Regions from separate parts of the Homo sapiens genome. Here region 1 is linked to region 2. The links are contacts of gene promoters, found by promoter capture Hi-C in blood cells and fetal thymus (Javierre and others, 2016). All regions are on one chromosome and are shown on one strand. Each heading gives the region's core, a stretch centred on a gene start or on the middle of the fragment in contact. The rest is flanking DNA. Distances are from core to core; before and after follow the strand shown. Region 1 overlaps RNF187 (ring finger protein 187). Region 2 holds the start of OBSCN-AS1 (OBSCN antisense RNA 1).

Region 1 (5,334 bases), core at 242-2,741, 280 kb before region 2:
AAGAGGGTTTGGGAGAGAGACCCACGTCAGAGAGGCAAGTGTGAGGTCACCATGGGGGGCTGGATAGGACAGAGAGGCCACACGAGGATGCCAAGGGTTCTTCCACATGAAGAGGGTGGAGTGGAGAGGACACAAGGGAGACGGAGGAGCATCAGCAAGGCCAGAGAAAGCCCTTGTGGAGGGAATGTCCCTACACAAAAATCCATTCAAAACAGACAAGGGCTTAATTGTAAGGCCTGAAACTGTAAAGCCAGTAGAAGAAAACACAGGTGAAAAACTCCATGACACTGGCCTAGGTTTCAGGGTTGTATCACTTCTTGCATATGACCCTAAAAGCACAAGCAACAAAAGAAAAATAAACATACATGATTGCATAGAGCTAAAAAGCTTCTGCACAGCAAAGGAAATCATAAACAGAGTGAAGACAACTCACAAATTGGGATAGAGTATTTGCAAACCATACATTAAGTAGGGGGTTAATATCCAAAATATACATGGAACTCAAACTCAATAGCAGGAAAGCAAATAAACGACTAAAAAATGAGCAAAGAACCTGAAGAGACACTTCTCAAAAGAAGACATACCAATGGCCAACAGGTATATAAAAAAATGCTCAACATCATTAATCATCAGGGAAACGTAAACCAAATCACAATGAGATTATCTCACACTTCTTAGAATGACTAATTTCAAAGAAAATAAATGTTGGTGAGTATGTAAATTATTATAGCCATTATGGAGAAGCATATGGAGGTTATTCAAAAACTTAAAAAGAGTACCGTGACCCAGCAATCCTACTGCTAAGTATTTTCCCAAAGGAAACGACATGAATATATGGAAGAGATACCCACACTCCTGTGTTTCTTAAGAGCACTTTTACAACAGTCAAGATACGGAATCAACCTACGTGGTCTAGAAGCAAAGTGATAAAGGGATAAAGTGGATAAATGGCTTAAGAAAATGTGGTGTATACACATCATGGAATACTATTTGGCCATAAAAAAGGAAACCCTGCCATTTGCAACATGGGTGAATTTACAGGACATTTATATTAAGTGAAATAAGCCAGGAACAGGACAAATATCACATGATCTCACTTATATGTGGAATCAAAATGTTGATTTATAGAATTAGAGAGTAGAACGGTGGTTAGCAGGGGCTGAGACAAGAGGATTTGGGGAAATTCTAGTCAGAGGGTACAGAGTCCCTGCTATACAAGAATAAACTCAAGGTCTATTGCACAGCATGGTGACTTCAGCTGATAACCGTGTACTGTACGCAGTTGGCCCTCTGTATCTGACTGTCCCACATATGTGCAGAGGGAGGGCTGACTGCAGGGTACTTGAGTATCTGCAGATTTTGGTATCCATGAGGGGGTCCTGGAACCAATCCCCCTTAGGCACAGAGGGATGACTGTATTTGAAATTGCTGAGTGTAGATTTCAAATATTCTCACCACCAAAAAAAACATGAGATGGATACATTAATCTGTCACTCCACAATGTACATAGATATCAAAACATCACACTGTGCCCCATAAATATATAATTTTCTTAAATAGAAAGAGGTTGTGATTGACAGGGTGGGATGTTGCTGGTCAGCTAGGTTAGGTGAGGATGGTGAAGCCACTGTCGGACCTGGTGATGTGGAGACACTGATGTTGTGGGAGACTCTGCCATCAGGACCTGTCCGGGCAAGCATCACAGGTGTGCAGGGCAGGGGCAGGGATGCTCAGGGATGACAGCAGACTGCAGCAGGCGGAGACAGTGAGAAAGACAAACTGGAGGTCTCAGGGTCGGGATGTTGTTGGCGTGCTGACAAAGATTCTCTACTTGGCCAAACTCTGGCCAGGCTCTGGAATCTTCTCCTAGGGCCCTCTTTGCCCTTTCTTATGAAATCCAGTTTTAGCAAGAACCCTAATTTGGTTAACCATAATATCTGACCACCCTCAATGGTACCTGACTGGGTTCCTCTCTGACCGTTTGCAGCCAATGTCTGATCGCCCTGCCTGCCTGCAGCAAGGACTCTGTGAGGTGGGTTTAGCCAGAGCCCCCTCAGCCCTGATGTCTCCTCACAGTCATTCCCACCCATGGACCCTATACTGCTCCTCGCTCCTCCAACCCCTGCCCTGCTACGTCGGGGTGGAGCCCCATCTCCCCCCAGGCCCCAAGGAAAGGGTCCCACACCCATCTCAATGGTCCCAATCAAAGTCCTCCTCACCATGCTTTAGCACGTGTCACGAGGAAGTTTCCTTTGACACTGGAGGGTGGCCAGGGCAGGGGGAAGAGGCCAGGTGGACACACGGAGACGAAGCAAACGAGCTGACACAAACCCACTTTATTCAGCATTGAGCCAGCCCACACGCTGGGCAGGTCAAACTCACAGACATCGCACCAAGGGCCGGGGACTCAGAAGGGCTGAAAGGCTTCATCTGGAAATGGGCACCGCTCACAAGCCCGGCTATCCCCAAATCTCAACAACTGTCTGCATCTATGTCCCCGACTTTGCAATCCTGTCCCCAGTGCTGAGTTTCTGTCGACTAATTTATCTACACACAAGGATGCTGCAGGCAACTGAGCTACTGCTACAAGCTTTGCAAAATTCAACTACTAAAGGAAATGGGAGGAGGGAAAGAGCTAGAGATAACAGCAAGATGAGACACGATGGCAGGGCCTGGAGATGCTAAATGGGGTTAGCCACCTGCCAGCCCCCTCACCCAGGGAAACAGAGAAAGAGGCTTCCTTCTGCGGAGGCAGGTGGAGCACAGGGAGGGCTCCTGGGAGGCACAGGAGTGGGGTGGGGGCCAGGAAGGGGGAGGTGGACAGAGCGACTTGGATAAGGCTGGGCCGGGCCCACGCCCACCTCAAGAGGGGGGCCGCCTCCTCAGGAGGCATCAAGGTGCAATCCAGTCTTCCTTTCTCTCCCTGAAGACCTGAGTTCCAGCCTTCACAGAGCGTCATGCGCATTCTTCTTTCTGGATGCTAACCCCAAATCCGACACTCAATGGTGCACCTCAGGTACCTGCCAAGGATCTGTGGGCCCACATGGAAGGTGCAGGGTCTGGGTCCCTGGATGACGAGGTGAGGGGCAGATGGGTGACCAGGGAAGGGCATGACCCAGAGCTGCCGGGACTCATGGAGGATGGGCTGTGGCTAGGACTTCAGGAAGGGACGGGCACAGGTGGGAAGGGTCCTCAGGTCCAGCCTCTACCGGGAGGTGTTTGCAGCCCCCAAAACACGCCTCGGGGTGAAGGATAAATGGACATTGTTGAAACACGCAACTATGTAGATGGACCCAAGGCCAGGCGCCTGCCACGCTTCCCTGGCAGCCACACGCTGACACTTCCCATGGAGATGAGGATCCATCCTCCTGCCTCCAGCTCTGGGACTGCCACGGGTTGGCGCCATCACTGCATGGGAGGGGAGAGGGAAAGACAGAGAGACAAAAAGAGAAAGAGACACACAGAGTCAGAGACAGAGGCAAAAGGAGAGAGCGAAAGAGAGAGCGCACATGAGACAGCGCATGAGGTACTGTCCTGAGCACAACAAACCCAGGGCCTGGCCCAGACTTCCGTCTCCCCAGGGCCAAAGCCTTGTCACCTATGGCTGGCACGGGCAACTGAACCGTTCAGGGCCATCTGGGTTGCTGCAGGGTCTGGGGTTCAGGCCAGGCCCTGGGCAGAGGCAGAAGAAAAGCCCTGAGGTTGGGTTTCTTGGCTGCTTCTGCCTTCAGGACCCCAGGGCGAGGCAGGAGCCTTCCATGCTCGGGCACTCGGGATGCCAAGTGCCCTCCTTTGTGAAGGTCAGGGACACCTCAGACCCTCCTCAACTTAAAACCCCTTCCCATCACCTTCCCTGACCACCCACCCATTCCCGAAATTCAGCCCTGCAAGGCCACGGCAGTGGGAGTCAGGCTGGGCTTTTAAGCCTTGACTTCGGGCAATGGTCCCCCAATGGCTCGCTGCTGCCTGCGTCCACCCTGGCCCGATGGTGGGCAGACCCAGCGGGGCTCCCGCACCTGCAGCAGCATGCTGAGGCCCAGGTTGCGATGCTTCTTCTCCAGCTCCGAGACCGCCTGCAGCAGTGACCTGAACCGCTCAGTGGGGTCAGCCAGCTCGTCCTCAGGGAGCCCCTCCTCCTTCTCAGCCTCCTGCAGGAAATGCTCCTCCTCCTCCACAAAGAAGGCCCGCAGCTTCTTGTAGTCGGTCAGTGCCTTCTTCCTACGGTCCATCACGTGTCCCTGCAAACGGGTGGCAGGAAAAGACCTGTGTCCTCACCCACCCTCCCCAGGGGAAGGGGAACCTGTTTGCTCTTGAAGGAGTTAAGAACATGCCACTCCAAAACATGCTGCTCAGGCACATCGACTATTAGGCCAGGCACAGTGGCTCACGCTTGTAATCCCAGCACTCCAGGAGGCCAAGGCGGGCGGATCATGAGGTCAGGAGTTCAAGACCAGCCTGACCAACATGGTGAAACCCCGTCTCTACTAAAAATACAAAAATGAGCCAGGCGTGGTGGCACGCCTGTAATCCCAGCTAATCGGGAGGCTGAGGCAGGTGAATCACTTGAATCCAGGAGGCGGAGGTTGCAGTGAGCCCGAGTTCATGCTACTGCACTCCAGCCTGGGCGACAGAGCGAGACTCCATCTCAAAAAAAAAAAAAAAAAAAAAAAAAGCCAGGCACGGGGGCTCACGCCTATAATCCCAGCACTTTGGGAGGCTGAGGCAGACAGAACATGAGGTCCGGAGATTAAGACCATCCTGGCCAACCTGCTGAAACCCCATCTCTACTACAAATATAAAAATTAGCTGGGCGTGGTGGCGCACGCCTGTAGTCCCAGCTACTTGGGAGGCTGAAGCAGGAGAATCGCTTGAACCTGGGAGGCAGAGGTTGCGGTGAGCCAAAAAAAAACAAAAAACAAAAAAAAAAACAATAACAGAAGAGGCCTGGCACGGTGCCTCATGCCTGTAATCACAGTACTTTGGGAGGCTGAGGTGGGAGGATTGCTTGAGCCCAGGAGTTCGAGACTAGCCTGGGCAACAGTGAAAACCTGTCTCTACTAAAAATCAAAAACATTAGCCAGGCATAGTGGTGCACACCTATGGTCCCAGCAACTCGGGAGGCTGAGGTAAGACGATCGCTTGAGCCCAGGAGTTTGAGGCTGCAGTGAGCTATGACCATACCACTGCACTCCAGCCTGGGCCAACAGAGCAAGGCCTTTTTTAAAAAAAATCAAAAAACAGTGCAAGATCACCCTGACCTCCATTCTGCTTCTTAAAAGCAAATGAAATTCCCAAGTGAAAGACGCCCTCCCCATATCAAATAAAATGATTTTA
Region 2 (5,622 bases), core at 1,261-3,760:
GACAGAAAAAAGCAGGAAAGAAACGGAAGGGAAAAGATTAACAAGATAGAGGAGGCAGGAGGGGGAAAGGAGGAAAGTGGGGAGACAGACATGAGGCTCTGCCCAGCAGGACCCCTGCAGCCCCAGGCCCTCACCCAGACACCAGGGACCAGTGCCACCAGCCAGCCTGGGTGAGTCCTCACACGCCCACCACCCTGCCTGCTTCATCCCAGTGACCTGCAGGCTGACAGGGTGTCCTGGGGCCCTCAGACCTGTAGCAGCCCTACCTGGAGCCCTGACACCGCCCACCCTGGAGAAATGAGGCTCAGGGTCCCAAGCTGGGGCCCTCCACCTACCCCGGACCTCCATCCGGATGCTGCTCTCAATGCCGTTGGCCACGAACTTCAGCTGCGCCCCGTGCAGGCTGGCGGGCACCTCCCGGATGGTGAGCGTGTGCCGGGTGCGATCACAGTGGATCTCATACACACTGCTGGCCTTCAGGGCCTGCCCATCCAGGAACCACTCACCCGCTGAGGCCACCGTGAGGTCCACGGAGAAAGTGACCTCGCCACCCTCTACCGCCTGCACCGCCTTCAGCGGTGTCCTCACGGCCAGCTTGGGGGCTGTGGGGCGGGCAGCGTCAGAAAGGGGCCGAGGAGGAGTGGGGAGTGCTGAGGAGGTCTCTGCCTTCCCCTTCTCTTCCTACAGAGCCTAGACCTAAATGTTCCTCCTCCAGGAAGCCCAGCCAACACACAGAGCGACCATAGCATGAGTCAGGCTCATGAAGGAACAAGGACAAGGTACAGCTGCCCTGAGACCCCTCCAGCATCCTACAAGCCCCACCAGAGTGGGGCAGCCCTGGAGCCCCGTCCCCTGGGTCTGCTGGAGACAGGCAGGCTCCCAGGGGCCCTGTAGTGGGGTCACCTATCCTTCCCACCACGGACACTGCACCAGGGCAAGGCCTTGGCAGCCCCCCTCCCCACAGAAGGTCCCCATGAGGCCACTCTGGCCTCCCCTGAAGCTGGACCTGGGGGATTCCGGGGCAGGTGAGCAGCCCCGTAGGTTGTAACAGGGAGGTCCCACTTACCCAGGTGGACAGTCCCCGGGAACTCGAGGTAGGGACTCTGACCAAAGCTGTTGAGAGCGGACACTCGGAACTGGAAGTTCCCCTCCTCCGCCACATCAGCCACGGTCAGCTCAGGTGTAGCCACCCATTCAGCCTCGTGGCACCTGATCCAGGTGTAGGTGCCAAGCTTCTTCTTCTCTACCAGGTAGCCGTCGATAGTGACAGGGCGTTCCCCATGGGGTGGTGGGGACCAGCTGAGAATCACGGAACTCTCCATCCTGGCCTTTACCACAGGATCCACAGGGGGTTGCAGGGGAGGCTTCCTGGGGGCTGTGTAGAGGGTGGGCAGAGGTCAACTACTGGGAGCCTCTTCCTGAGCCCTGGGTCTGGAATCACCTGGAGGGGTGTCACAGGATCCCCAGCTCTCTTGGGGCTGCTCTGGGGACCTGGACCACTGGCCACAACCTCCAGCCCCAGACCTGCAGCCACTTCTCTGGTTGCAGCTGAAAGACTGCGCGGGGGCTCAGGGAGCCTAACGTTGGAGGGCCAGGGCTATGGTCTTGCCCGGCGGCCCTCGGTACAGCAGGCTGAAGCCCAGAGAGCTGAGGTAATGGAGGGCAGGGGACTGGGACCAGGGAGACAGCAGGGAAGCGATGCCATCCTGGGAGCACCCTCAGGCCCTCACCCGACACGCAGAACTGGGTGGACGTCTGGCAGTCGCCAGCCATAAAGGCCACCTGGCCCACATCCTCCAGGCAGCACTGGGAGATGGTTAGTGTGTGGCGCGTGCCCTCCGCGGAGATGGCCACGCGGCCCCCCGCCACCACTTCCTCCTGGTTCCGCAGCCAGTGGACGGGGCCCACCGGGACCGCCAGCTCCACGCAAAACATAGCCGTGTCGCCCACGCGCACCGCCGTCTTCCGAGGGAGCTTTCGGAGGAGGTTTCCTGGGGTGGAGGGAGCCGGGCCAGTCAGACCAGCCCCTGCACGCCCCGCTCCAGACTCGCTCCTCCGCTTGCCCCCTGTCTCCCGGTTCCCAACTGCCTCCGATTCACTCCCCCGCGCAACCCCTTACCTGTCCCGCCGGCCCAAGTCCCAGCTCGGTCCCACAAGACCCCTGCCCACTCCGTCTCCCCTTCCCCCTAATCACCACCCCGTGCCCGGCCCGAGCTTGCTCCTCCGCCCCCACCTTACCTGCCCTTCCCGCCCCAGTCCCGCCCCTGCCTGCCCCAGTCCCAACTCGTACCTCGCAAGCCCAGTCCGTCTGCACCCTGCCCGCCCCCGTGCCCGCCCAGCCCGTGCGGCCTGGCTCCCCCCTCCCCCGCCCCCGGCTCCCTTCTCGGTGCCTCCTTGCCCCCGCTACCTCCCCGAAGCCGCCCTGTGCCCCGCCCCGTGCCCCGCCCCGCCTGCCTTGGACTGCGAGCTCCGCCACCGTGCGGCTGCCCTCTGGCGTCTCGCAGATGTACACCGCGTCGTCGTCGGCCGAGACATTGCGCACGGTCAGGCGGCGCTCGGTGCCCTCCTCCTCGATGCCGTACTTGGCGCTCGCCCACAACCGCGTCTCCTCCTTGAACCACGCGGCCTCAGTGGACGGCTGGGGCACCTCACATAGGAACGTGGCCGACTCCTTCTCCCGCACCTCCAGATCTTGCAGCCGCTTTTTGAAGGGAACCGCGGGCTCTGCCAGGAGAGAAGACTGGTGAGAGGGGCGGGGCCGGAGGGTGCAGGACGACGGCGGGGTGGGAAGGGGGAAATTGGGGGATTGTGGGCGGGAAAGGAGACTGGAGGATGCAGAGGTGAGGGTGTGGGAAGGAATAGGGGACAGGAGCAGAGGGGCTGGGAGGCTGGAAAGGAGAGGGTGCAGGGTAGAGGAGTGGGCTGGGGAGAGGAGCGAGCAGGAGGCAGAGGGGCTAAGGGTTGGGAAGGGCGCAGGGGAGGAGACAGGAAGTTGGGGGGCGGGGGAGTAGAAGAGCAGAAGGCAGAGTGGTGGAGGTTGGGTTGGGAGCAGCGGGAGGGAGAGGGCGGGGCTGAGGAGGTGGGATCCCCTGCGGCCCCGCCCCTCTCACACCTCTCGCCCCTGTCTGTGGGCCAGCGGTGGCGGGTTGGGGGCGCGGCATGCAAAGGGGGCGGGGCGGGCAGGGGACTGGGTGGGGAAAGCGGGTTGCGGGTGTTTAGAATAGGTCGTGGGGCGTCGCCCGCATTTTGCGCACCAGGAACGGACACCTGCAACCCTGGATTCCACGACCGGACAGACGCGGGTGGGAAACGGCAGACCGCAAGGGCGAAAGGACCCAGGTGCACGGGTTGCGGAGGAGCCTGGGCCCGCGCGCCCCGCACCCAGGAGCTCACCGCGCACTACGACCAGCACAGAGCTGTAGGTCTGGCCCACGAGGTTGGACGCCGTGCAGGTGTAGAGGCCGCGGTCCGACTGCTTGCAGAAGAGGATCTTGAGCACGAAGTTCTCCTGCGCGTCCTCGTACACCACGTGGCGCCGGCCCTCGGTCACCAGCTGGCCGTCCTTCTTCCACACCGTCTCGGGCTTGGGCTCGCCGGTCACGTAGCAGCTGAGGCGCGCGTGCTTGCCTTCAGTCACCGTGCAGGTGCGCGTGCCGGTGCTGGGCGGTGAGGCGGGGGCGCCCTCGGCGCGCATAGCCTCGCGCCGCCGCTGCAGGTGCGCCAGGAGCGCGGCCGTGGAGGTCCCGGGCCGGCTGGCCGTGTCCGCGGCGTCCGAGTCCACCACTAGCGCCGCGGCGGCGCTGGCAGCGCCCAGCGGGTTCTCGGCGCGGACCTCGTAAGTGCCGCCGTCGCGCGGCCGCGCCGCCCGAATGCGCAGCGCACTTGCCTCGCCGAGCTCCTCCACGCGCACGCGGGGGCCGTCGGGCTCACCCAGGCGCCGCCCGTCCTTGGACCAGCTCACTGCCGGCCTCGGGGAGCCACCCACGCGGCAGCGGAAGGTGGCCTCTGAGCCCTCGCGCACGCGGATGGACGTGGGCCGCAGCAGGAAGTGCGGCGCCTGCTCGGCGCACGCGGCCTCCGCGTCCACCTGCAGGCCCACAGCAGCGAAGGCCTCGCCTATGGCATTGCGCGCGCGGCACACGTATTGCCCACTGTCGCCCAGCGCCAGGTCCAGGATAGTGAGGCGGTAGAGGTCGCCGTCCTGGGCCAGACGGAAGCGCGCGCCGGCCGCCACCGGCTGCTGGTCCTTCTCCCAGCTCACCTGTGGCGTGGGATTACCCACGATCTGGCAGCTGAGGGTGGCGTCCTTGCCCACCGACACCACGAAGGCCTTGGGCCGGGTGAGAAAGCGGGGCGCCCCGCTGAACTGTGGCTGATCCATGAGGGTGGCGGCGGGGACCTGCAAGTAGGTGGGGATGGCCTTAGTGGGGATTGGAATGAGGCCCGGGTGCACCCCACCGTGCCGCCTGAGGAACCCAGTTCAACACCTCCACACATCCTATTTCCCCCCCACTCCCCGCGCCCTGAGGAAGCATCACCGGTTGGCACCGTGACCCAGAAGTGCAGACTTGCCCCTTTCTGGGCATTTGGGGTTTGGTAACCTCACCTGCAAACGGCTCTTCTAGCCGCTGAGAACATCTCCTTCCCTCTCCCTACCTACAGGGACCCACTGCCTCAGCTGCAGTTACTGGAGCACATGTCCCAAACCTACACCCCCTAGCAACCAGGCAGGGCCCCCTCCCTCGCAGTGCCCGCTATTTTTGGTTCCTCCCAGCCTACAAGCTTTGCTGCACCTTCCTGAGGCAGGCAGACCTGCCTGGTGCACTGTAGGCCACTCCCTACCTGCGGGGTGGTATCCTTTCTCCTACCGCACACACTGCTGCCTCTCGGGCCTAAAACTTCAGCTGGCCTGTGTGTCCCCCACATCAAGAAGGGGAGGCTCGCTGAGCCCCGGCAGGCCTGGGTGCAGGAGGCCCACCATGGGCACCGGTCTCATGCCCGTCTCCTCTGCCTATCGCACAAGGAGGTCACCGGTTCTCCACCCTGGCAGGCTCCCCTTTGAGCCTCTTCTAGGTGAGATGCACCCTCCGCCCTGGGCAAAGCCCTTACTCCCTCCTCTTCCCCCCGACCCCTACGCAGCTCTCCTTCAGCAGCCCCTCCAGGTTGCACTGAGGGGCCAGTCCGGCCTGAAGCTGCCCTTGTTGCAGAGGGGCCTCACCTCTTCTGCAGGGTCACACACCTCCCTCCTCCCCAGGGGCATGCTCTTTATCCATGAGCGGGAAGGACTGGAAACCACTTAGCTGCTTGCTCCCAGGCCCCCCCACTGAGCCCCAGGGTGGGATTGGGATGCAAGGGCAGGGCACAGTCAGGGATCTGGCTTGGGAGCATAGCTGGGGGACCCCAGAGTCTGGAGCTGGCAAGGCCAGTAACATCCCCCTGGAAGGGCTAGAGACCTCCAGGCTGAGACCAGCTGGGCTGGGTCAGCCAGGCCCAACTTGGTCACCCCACAGTTCTCAGCCACACTGGCCAGCTGGACATGCTGCAGGGCTGAGGGTGGACACCAGTGCCAAAGGCCCCAGGTGATGCTGTCCTTTGACCACCCCAGGCGGAGCCCAGCAGGCC

Evidence for each region. Contacts are between HindIII fragments. The CHiCAGO score rates a contact against its expected background, and 5 or more counts as called.
Region 1: a contact is called between a fragment that was not itself captured here and the fragment with the promoter of OBSCN-AS1 in region 2, in 10 of 17 cell types (naive CD8 T cells, erythroblasts, total B cells and 7 more). The highest score is 9.0, in naive CD8 T cells.

The regions. Positions count from the first base shown.
Region 1 is chr1:228,491,957-228,497,290 of GRCh38, reverse strand. It overlaps RNF187 (ring finger protein 187), which reads right to left. Exons shown (of 4, transcript NM_001010858.3): 3 at 4,017-4,238; 4 at 1,103-3,408. The coding sequence ends at 3,406. Among named protein-coding and RNA genes, the nearest start is that of RNF187, 7.2 kb to the right of the region's middle. RefSeq lists an enhancer at 3,472-4,417. The HindIII fragment of the contact is 2,203 bases long and covers 390-2,592 here.
Region 2 is chr1:228,210,543-228,216,164 of GRCh38, reverse strand. It overlaps OBSCN-AS1 (OBSCN antisense RNA 1), which reads left to right and starts at 2,510. Exons shown (of 2, transcript NR_073155.1): 1 at 2,510-2,743. It overlaps OBSCN (obscurin, cytoskeletal calmodulin and titin-interacting RhoGEF), which reads right to left. Exons shown (of 116, transcript NM_001386125.1): 2 at 3,394-4,399; 3 at 2,455-2,724; 4 at 1,731-1,991; 5 at 1,067-1,375; 6 at 336-602. The coding sequence starts at 4,381. RefSeq lists a silencer at 2,374-2,423. The HindIII fragment of the contact is 3,550 bases long and covers 1,235-4,784 here.